Regions from separate parts of the Homo sapiens genome. Here region 2 is linked to region 1. Evidence: promoter capture Hi-C in 16 types of primary human blood cells and fetal thymus (Javierre and others, 2016). All regions are on one chromosome and are shown on one strand. The core of a region is centred on a gene start or on the middle of the fragment in contact, and the rest is flanking DNA. Distances in the headings are between cores, read along the strand shown.

What was found. The method cuts DNA at HindIII sites, captures the fragments that hold promoters and counts their contacts. A CHiCAGO score of 5 or more calls a contact.
Region 2: a contact is called between a fragment that was not itself captured here and the fragment with the promoter of TSPYL5 in region 1, in 2 of 17 cell types (M1 macrophages and M2 macrophages). The highest score is 7.8, in M1 macrophages.

Annotation. Positions count from the first base shown.
Region 1 is chr8:97,276,273-97,279,882 of GRCh38, reverse strand. It overlaps TSPYL5 (TSPY like 5), which reads left to right and starts at 1,955. Exons shown (of 1, transcript NM_033512.3): 1 at 1,955-3,610. The coding sequence starts at 2,039. The coding sequence ends at 3,292. All of the region lies in intron 2 of LOC101927066 (a long non-coding RNA gene), which reads left to right. RefSeq lists an enhancer at 2,417-2,918. The HindIII fragment of the contact is 4,352 bases long and covers 638-3,610 here.
Region 2 is chr8:97,549,126-97,552,735 of GRCh38, reverse strand. No RefSeq gene overlaps it. Among named protein-coding and RNA genes, the nearest start is that of MTDH, 93 kb to the left of the region's middle. The HindIII fragment of the contact is 3,260 bases long and covers 228-3,487 here.

The DNA.
Region 1 (3,610 bases), core at 706-3,205:
TTGCAGGCACTGAGGATACATCAGTGAACAAAACAAAAATCTCTTCCCTCATGGAGCTGACATTCTAGAGAGAAGAGATAGTTAATAAGCATAATAAATAATTGGTATAGTGTGTTGGAATAAAGAAAAAGTACCATAGGATAAAGGGATGGGGTGGGTGGCAATTCTAAATAGGATGGTCATTGAGAAGGTGACATTTAAGCAAAGTGTGAAGGCAGCTGGCCAAGGCCACCAACCACATTGGGAAAGAGCATTTAAGGTAGAAGGAAGAGCCAGTGCAAAGGCTCTGAGGCAGGAGTTTACCTAGTGAGTTTAAGAACAGCAAGGAAGCCAGTGTAGCTAGAGGTGGGAGAGAGGAGAGAGAAGATGAGGTCAGAGAGGTAACTCATGTAGTGGCAGATAGAAGACTTGCCAGATCATACAGGGCCTTGCAGGCTATTCTAGAGCTTTTGAGAAAATGAGGAATCACTTGTATTAGGCCGGCTTAAAATAGGGCCATCTGTATAAAAATAATTCCTCTTTAAATTGTTTCCTTAAACTTAGGGGTGTATACAAATCACCCAGGATCTTGTTAAAATTCAAATTCTGACTTAGTAGGTCTGGGGAAAGGCCTGAGATTCTGCATCTTTAACAAGCTTTCAGGTGATATCAGGCTGCTGGTCCACAACCACACTTTGAGTAATGAGGTCCCGGGGCTTTTGGGCTTATCTCTCCACTAGCTGGTTACAAGGGCCTTTTTGTTCCCTTTGAGCCTGAAAAGACCACCTCAAAAGGTTTTTCTTTATATTTTTACATTAGCCACAGGTCCCCTCACTGTTCATGGTCCTATTACCTCACTAGTAAGAGCGTGGTCCAGGGCTGCCTCCGGGACTGTGGGGGAGGTTGTCCGGCTGTTTCCATGCACAGTGTAAGAAGTTTCTAGGGCTTCTGCAGTGCCACGTGGAGGCTCTGCTTCTGAACCTCAATCTGCTCCCTGAATAATAATTTCACCTCTCACCACATTCTTGTCTTACTCCAATTACAGGAGCTCTAATACAGGTCTTCACTTCTGGTCCTATACCTAGAGTGATAGTCCAGATCTGTAAACTGAGGCAGCTGGGGGACTCGGGTGATGTTCCCAGGCAGAAGAGGTGGTCAGGTGGTCCACGGAAGCCTGTTTGTTAAGGAGCAAGGCTGATTTCTTAAGAGCCAGCCCAGTAATTGACAGTGGAACAAGTCTGGAAGGACTTGCCATTTCCAAATATAAGGCATAGGATACGGAGTCCCATGGGCTTGAGTTTGAATTGTGCTTCCATCCCTTACTGTGTAACCTGGGGAATGTGCCCGGGTGTCTCTGAGATGCAGTTTTCTTATCTCGAAAATGGGAATGATATCAACACCTCCTTTGTAAATTGAGATAATGCATTTAAAGCACCTAGTAAAGTGCCTGGCACAAATGATACAAAATACTAGTTGCCATTATTTTTATAATTTCTACTATCATCTTACTGCGTACCAAATCGCTTTGACGCCCGGCATTATAGCATCCACCTTTACGTTCTCTGGAGTTAAGGTACCAGAGCAAATCCCTCAGCAAAGGTGTTCAAAGAGAGACACACACGCCCGAGCACTTTCTTCATGACAGATGCCACAAGAGATAACTGGAGGAGCTGAAGATGTTTAGTTTAGAAAACAGGTGATGGGGGACAGGTGGTGATGGCTCTTAGCGTTGCCTTGTTCAACGAGACCCTGAGAGCACGATGAGCCCGCGCGGAAGAGATGAAATGGCAGCACCCCCGCGAGCGCATATCAGAGAAACTCGCCGAGACCTAAAGCGAGTCCGCGCGAGATGGGGGTGGGAGCGCCCGCGGGGGTCGTCTCCTGCGCAGCCGCAGCGGCGGCGCCAATCACCGGGCGCATCACGTCCTCTCGCGACGGTACAGTTGTACGTTCGTGACGTCGGCGGTTGCCGTGGAGAGACCCGCTCGGTCCCGACCGAGAGCTGGCGTCAGGAGCCGCAGGGTCACAGCGTGTCTTTGAAGCTGCCTCCGCCGCCACCATGAGCGGCCGAAGTCGGGGTCGAAAGTCCTCCCGCGCCAAAAACCGGGGCAAAGGCCGCGCCAAAGCCCGAGTCCGCCCTGCTCCGGACGACGCCCCGCGCGACCCGGACCCTTCACAGTACCAGAGTCTCGGGGAAGACACCCAGGCGGCACAGGTGCAGGCTGGCGCGGGGTGGGGTGGCCTGGAAGCCGCTGCGTCCGCGCAGCTCCTCCGGCTCGGGGAGGAGGCCGCCTGCCGGCTCCCCCTGGACTGTGGCCTCGCGCTGCGGGCCCGAGCTGCGGGGGACCACGGGCAGGCCGCGGCCAGGCCCGGCCCGGGGAAGGCCGCATCTCTCTCGGAGCGCCTGGCCGCAGACACTGTCTTCGTGGGAACAGCGGGAACCGTGGGAAGGCCGAAAAATGCCCCCCGCGTTGGAAACCGGCGTGGCCCTGCCGGGAAGAAGGCCCCAGAAACCTGTAGCACCGCGGGGAGGGGGCCTCAGGTCATAGCTGGTGGGAGGCAGAAGAAAGGGGCGGCAGGGGAGAATACCTCGGTGTCAGCTGGGGAGGAAAAGAAGGAAGAGAGGGATGCAGGGTCGGGGCCCCCAGCGACGGAAGGCAGCATGGATACGCTGGAGAACGTGCAGCTGAAGCTGGAGAACATGAACGCCCAGGCGGACAGGGCCTACCTTCGGCTCTCCAGGAAGTTTGGGCAGTTGCGACTGCAGCACTTGGAGCGCAGGAACCACCTCATCCAAAATATCCCGGGCTTCTGGGGGCAAGCATTTCAGAACCATCCCCAGCTAGCATCCTTTCTGAATAGCCAAGAGAAAGAGGTACTGAGCTACTTAAACAGCTTGGAAGTGGAAGAGCTCGGCCTTGCCAGATTGGGCTACAAAATCAAGTTCTACTTCGATCGCAACCCGTATTTCCAAAATAAGGTGCTCATCAAGGAATATGGGTGTGGTCCTTCTGGCCAGGTGGTGTCTCGTTCTACTCCAATCCAGTGGCTCCCAGGGCATGATCTCCAGTCCCTAAGCCAGGGAAACCCAGAAAACAACCGTAGTTTCTTTGGGTGGTTTTCAAACCACAGCTCCATTGAGTCTGACAAGATTGTGGAGATAATCAACGAAGAATTGTGGCCCAATCCCTTGCAGTTCTACCTTTTGAGTGAAGGGGCTCGTGTAGAGAAAGGAAAGGAAAAAGAAGGCAGGCAAGGTCCAGGAAAGCAGCCAATGGAGACTACTCAGCCTGGGGTGAGCCAATCCAACTGATCCTGCACAAGTCTCCCTGCTACCTCCTGCTGGGCTGCTCCTGGTTGACTACATATTTGGCTCTCTGCCTTCTCTTCATGTTGGCCTCTGTGTACTATAGACCCTTTGGACTTTAGTTACAAGAATATGGCATTTATGATCATGTTCTTTTGCCTCCCATAGCCTCTTGCTTTTCTACGTTAGTGTCACATGTTATGTGATCGCACCCGGACTGTTCATATGTTAAGCACACATACTTTAGATGTGTGCTCCCTGTTATCTACATTGCCTGGACCTTGTTCTTGGCTCTGGCCTTTCCTACTTGTCTTTAACATGGAC
Region 2 (3,610 bases), core at 608-3,107, 270 kb before region 1:
CTGAATTTTGAATGTGGGACTCTCACTTCATCTTTCTGTCTTCCAAAGCAGAAACATTGGGTTATCTCATAGTAAATACTCATAAGTATTTGTGAAAAGGAAGGAAAGAAAGGAGGAAGAAAGGAAGGAAAAGAAGGAGAGAGGAAAAGGAGGAAATAAAGGAAGGAAAGAGTGAAGGAAAGAAGGAGGAAGGGAGGAAATTGTTTCATTATAACTTGTGACAAGCTTTTGAAGATGAGAAGGATTATTCCAGTTTCTCAGAGAAGACCCAGAGAGTCCAAGTGCTACCTCATGTTTATGATGCCATTTGGTGGAATTTTCTCGGATTAGAAGGCTCAGAGTTTGGGCATTGTCGTGAGTTGAACTGTGTCCTCCAAAATAAGTTGAAGTCCTAAGCCCTGGTACCTATGAATGTGACCTCCTCTGGAAACAGGTTCTTTGCAGATGTAATCCAGTTAAGATGAGGTTGTACTGGATTAGAATGGGCCCTAAAGCCAGTGACTGATGTCTTTATAAAAAGAGGGAGATTAGGACAGAAAGACACACACAGGGCTGGGTGTGGTGGCTCATGCCTGTAATCCCGGCACTTTGGGAGGCAAGGCGGGCAGACCACTTGAGCCTGAGTTTGAGACCAGCCTGGGGCAACATGTTGAAACCCCATCTCTTCAAAAAAAAACAAAAAACAAAAGACAAAAATTAGTGGGGTGTGGTGGTGCACCTGTAGTTTCAGCTACTCCGTGGGGCTGAGGCAGGAGGATTGCTTGAGCCCAGGAAGGCAAGGCTGCAGTGAGCTGTGATTGTGCCACTTGCACTCCAGTCTGGGTGACAGAGTGAGACCCTGTTTCAAAAGAAAAAAAAAAAAGACACACTTAGGGGGAAGATGGCCATGTGAAGACAGATGCAGAAATTTAAGTGATGCAGTTACAAACCAGGAAATGCCAAAGATCCCCCTGGCAACCTGGAATGGAAGAAACTGGAAAAGGCAAGGAAGATTTTTTTCCTGGAGCCTTCAGAGAGAGGATGGCCTTGCTGACACCTTGATTTCATACTTCTAGGCTTTGGAACTGTAAGAGAATAAATTTCTGCTGGTTTAAGCCACCCAGTTTGGGCTAATTTGTTACAGCAGCCCAAGGAGGTTAATGCATCATGTTAAAAACTCTTAGTGACAATAGGCCCACCTGGGGAATGCAGAAAAGTCCTATGTATATTGGAAGGAAGTCAATATTCCAAGGAGATAAAGAGAGTTCTTGGTAAGGGTCAGACAGAAGAGAATTGTTTGATGGGTTCGAAGATATGTTTCTGTTGTTTCTTTGCCAAAATTTTAGTACAGGCAAATCTTTCTTTTCCTGTAATTTGTATTTCAATGTATTAAGCCTTACTGGAGGTCTTTGAAAAATGTTGCAGAAGTTTAACCATCTGATTTCTCCTCTCGTCAACTGACCATTTCTAAATGCACATAACAGCAGTTAGCATCTTGCTTGCTTCTAAATAGTTTCTGTTGTAGCATGATATGTTGCAATAAATGATTGAAGAGCTGAAAAATGGTAACCACCAAGATCAAGCTCTTAGGATGAAAATAAGGATTTAATGTACTGCAGCCATTCATTTATTCATTACTATCCTAAGGGTATTACAGGATTCTGAGGATTAAATTACTACTGGGAAAATATTGTCAAAGTAGGGGAATGGAATTTCCCCTCTCAAATAAGAACGAATGCTTCCCCTCATCCTTATGACTCAGGTAACTTAGATAATATGGTCCCAAGATAGAGACATCAGTTCTTAGGATACAACAACTTGTCGGTGGTTTAGGTGAGACAGCTTGATAAATGTCATCATCACTGCCCACTGTAGGAAAAATAAGTAAAGGACACCGAGATGCCTTTCTTTAGTTTCCCATGGTAACCTTTATATGCCTTCAGCTTTGCATGAATAAGATGATGGCGACAGAGATATGACTGCAACAAAATCAATAGTAAACACTATTCCAGACAGGATTTTAGTCTTGGCACCTAGTTGTGTCAAGCACATGGTATCCACTCAGTGAAAGTTTGCTGAATAAATAGAATAAATGAATACATAAATTAGTGGAATTGGATCCTTCACGGCAGTGTCCTTTATTGCTTTGTAACTGAGTTTGTTTCTATAATTTCCTGGCAGGATATCTAGAAGTGAGGGAGGCTCAGTGGATATTGACAATGATATGGCCAAAGTCATTAATTTAGAGTAGTAGTAAGTTTTGATTTTGCCATATTACCTCCTGTCGTATCAGGGTCACTTGCTCCTGAGCATATTAATAGGCTGGTATTTGATCCTATACAAAGATTTCAGAGGTACTGTGACTGTCATTGTCTTTTTAAATTTATTTTAGATGGACTCTCACTCTGTCACCCAGGCTGGTGTGCAGTGGCGTGATTTTGGCTCACTGCAACCTCCACCTCCTGGGTTCAAGCAATTCTCTGCCTCAGCCTCCCAAGTAGCGGGATTGCAGGTGTGTGCCATTATGCCCAGGTGATTTTTGTATTTTTAGTAAAGACCAGGTTTCACTATGTTGGCCAGGCTGGTTTTGAACCCCTGACCTCAATTGATCCACTTGCCTCAGCCTCCCAAAGTGCTGGGATTACAGGTGTGAGCCACTGTACCCGGCCTCATTGTTTTTAAAATCGAAGGCAACTACATGGCCTATAGCAATGACTGTGACATTTCTGCTTTCAGTTTCTGGTAAGTCCCTACATTAAGTTCCCATTTAGCTAAAAATGATGTTGCCATAAGTGTTTCCTGACCACAGGATTTAATACCAATGGATTCATTCAACATATATTTTTTGGGCGCCTACTATGTGCCAGGGACTTTTAAAGCAGTGAAGAGTTTTCTCTGAACAAAATGCCACCATGGAGCTTAAATTTCAATGGAACGATAATAAGCAGATAAAAATCTAAAACAACGTCAGATATTGGTAAATGCTACGATGGTGAGAGAGAGCGCCATCAAGAAAGGTTTCTGGGGTATGGGTGAGAGTACCCTTTATAGTTATGGGGGAGGTGGGTAGAGATCTATTTTCAGGAACAACATCAAGAGATCTGTTTTAGCTATGTTAAATTGGAGATGCCTATTAAACTACTGAACATCAGTTTCTCCTCATATCAGATTTATATCTATGTGCACGTGTGTGTGTGTGTGTATGTGTGTGTAAAATAATGTGAAGAAATGTGAATGAGTTAAAAGGGTTCTGGATGAGAAGCAGTCAGCCAGAAAGCTAGGACCCAATCATAGCAAAAAAAAAAAAAAAATTACCTTGACCAAATAGCTTAATCTTACTAGGTCTTCTTTTATCTTTAAAATAAGAAGATTCATCAAGATTATCTCTTCTTACGATTTTCAAATCCTGCGATTCTGGGTTTGGGACTTCCTATCCTATAACCCTAGATCCATAGAGTAGCTACCAAGCAATATGGTTGCCCTAAGAAATTCATCAATAACCTAAGCTTTTCATGAAGGCAAAGTTGTTTGGGAAGAAGAAATTGTTCTTTCTCTGACCCATTCATGCTCCATTCACAATAGATATGCTCATGACAGACCCATGATGAAAGGAGTTTTCCATTGCTGTGTG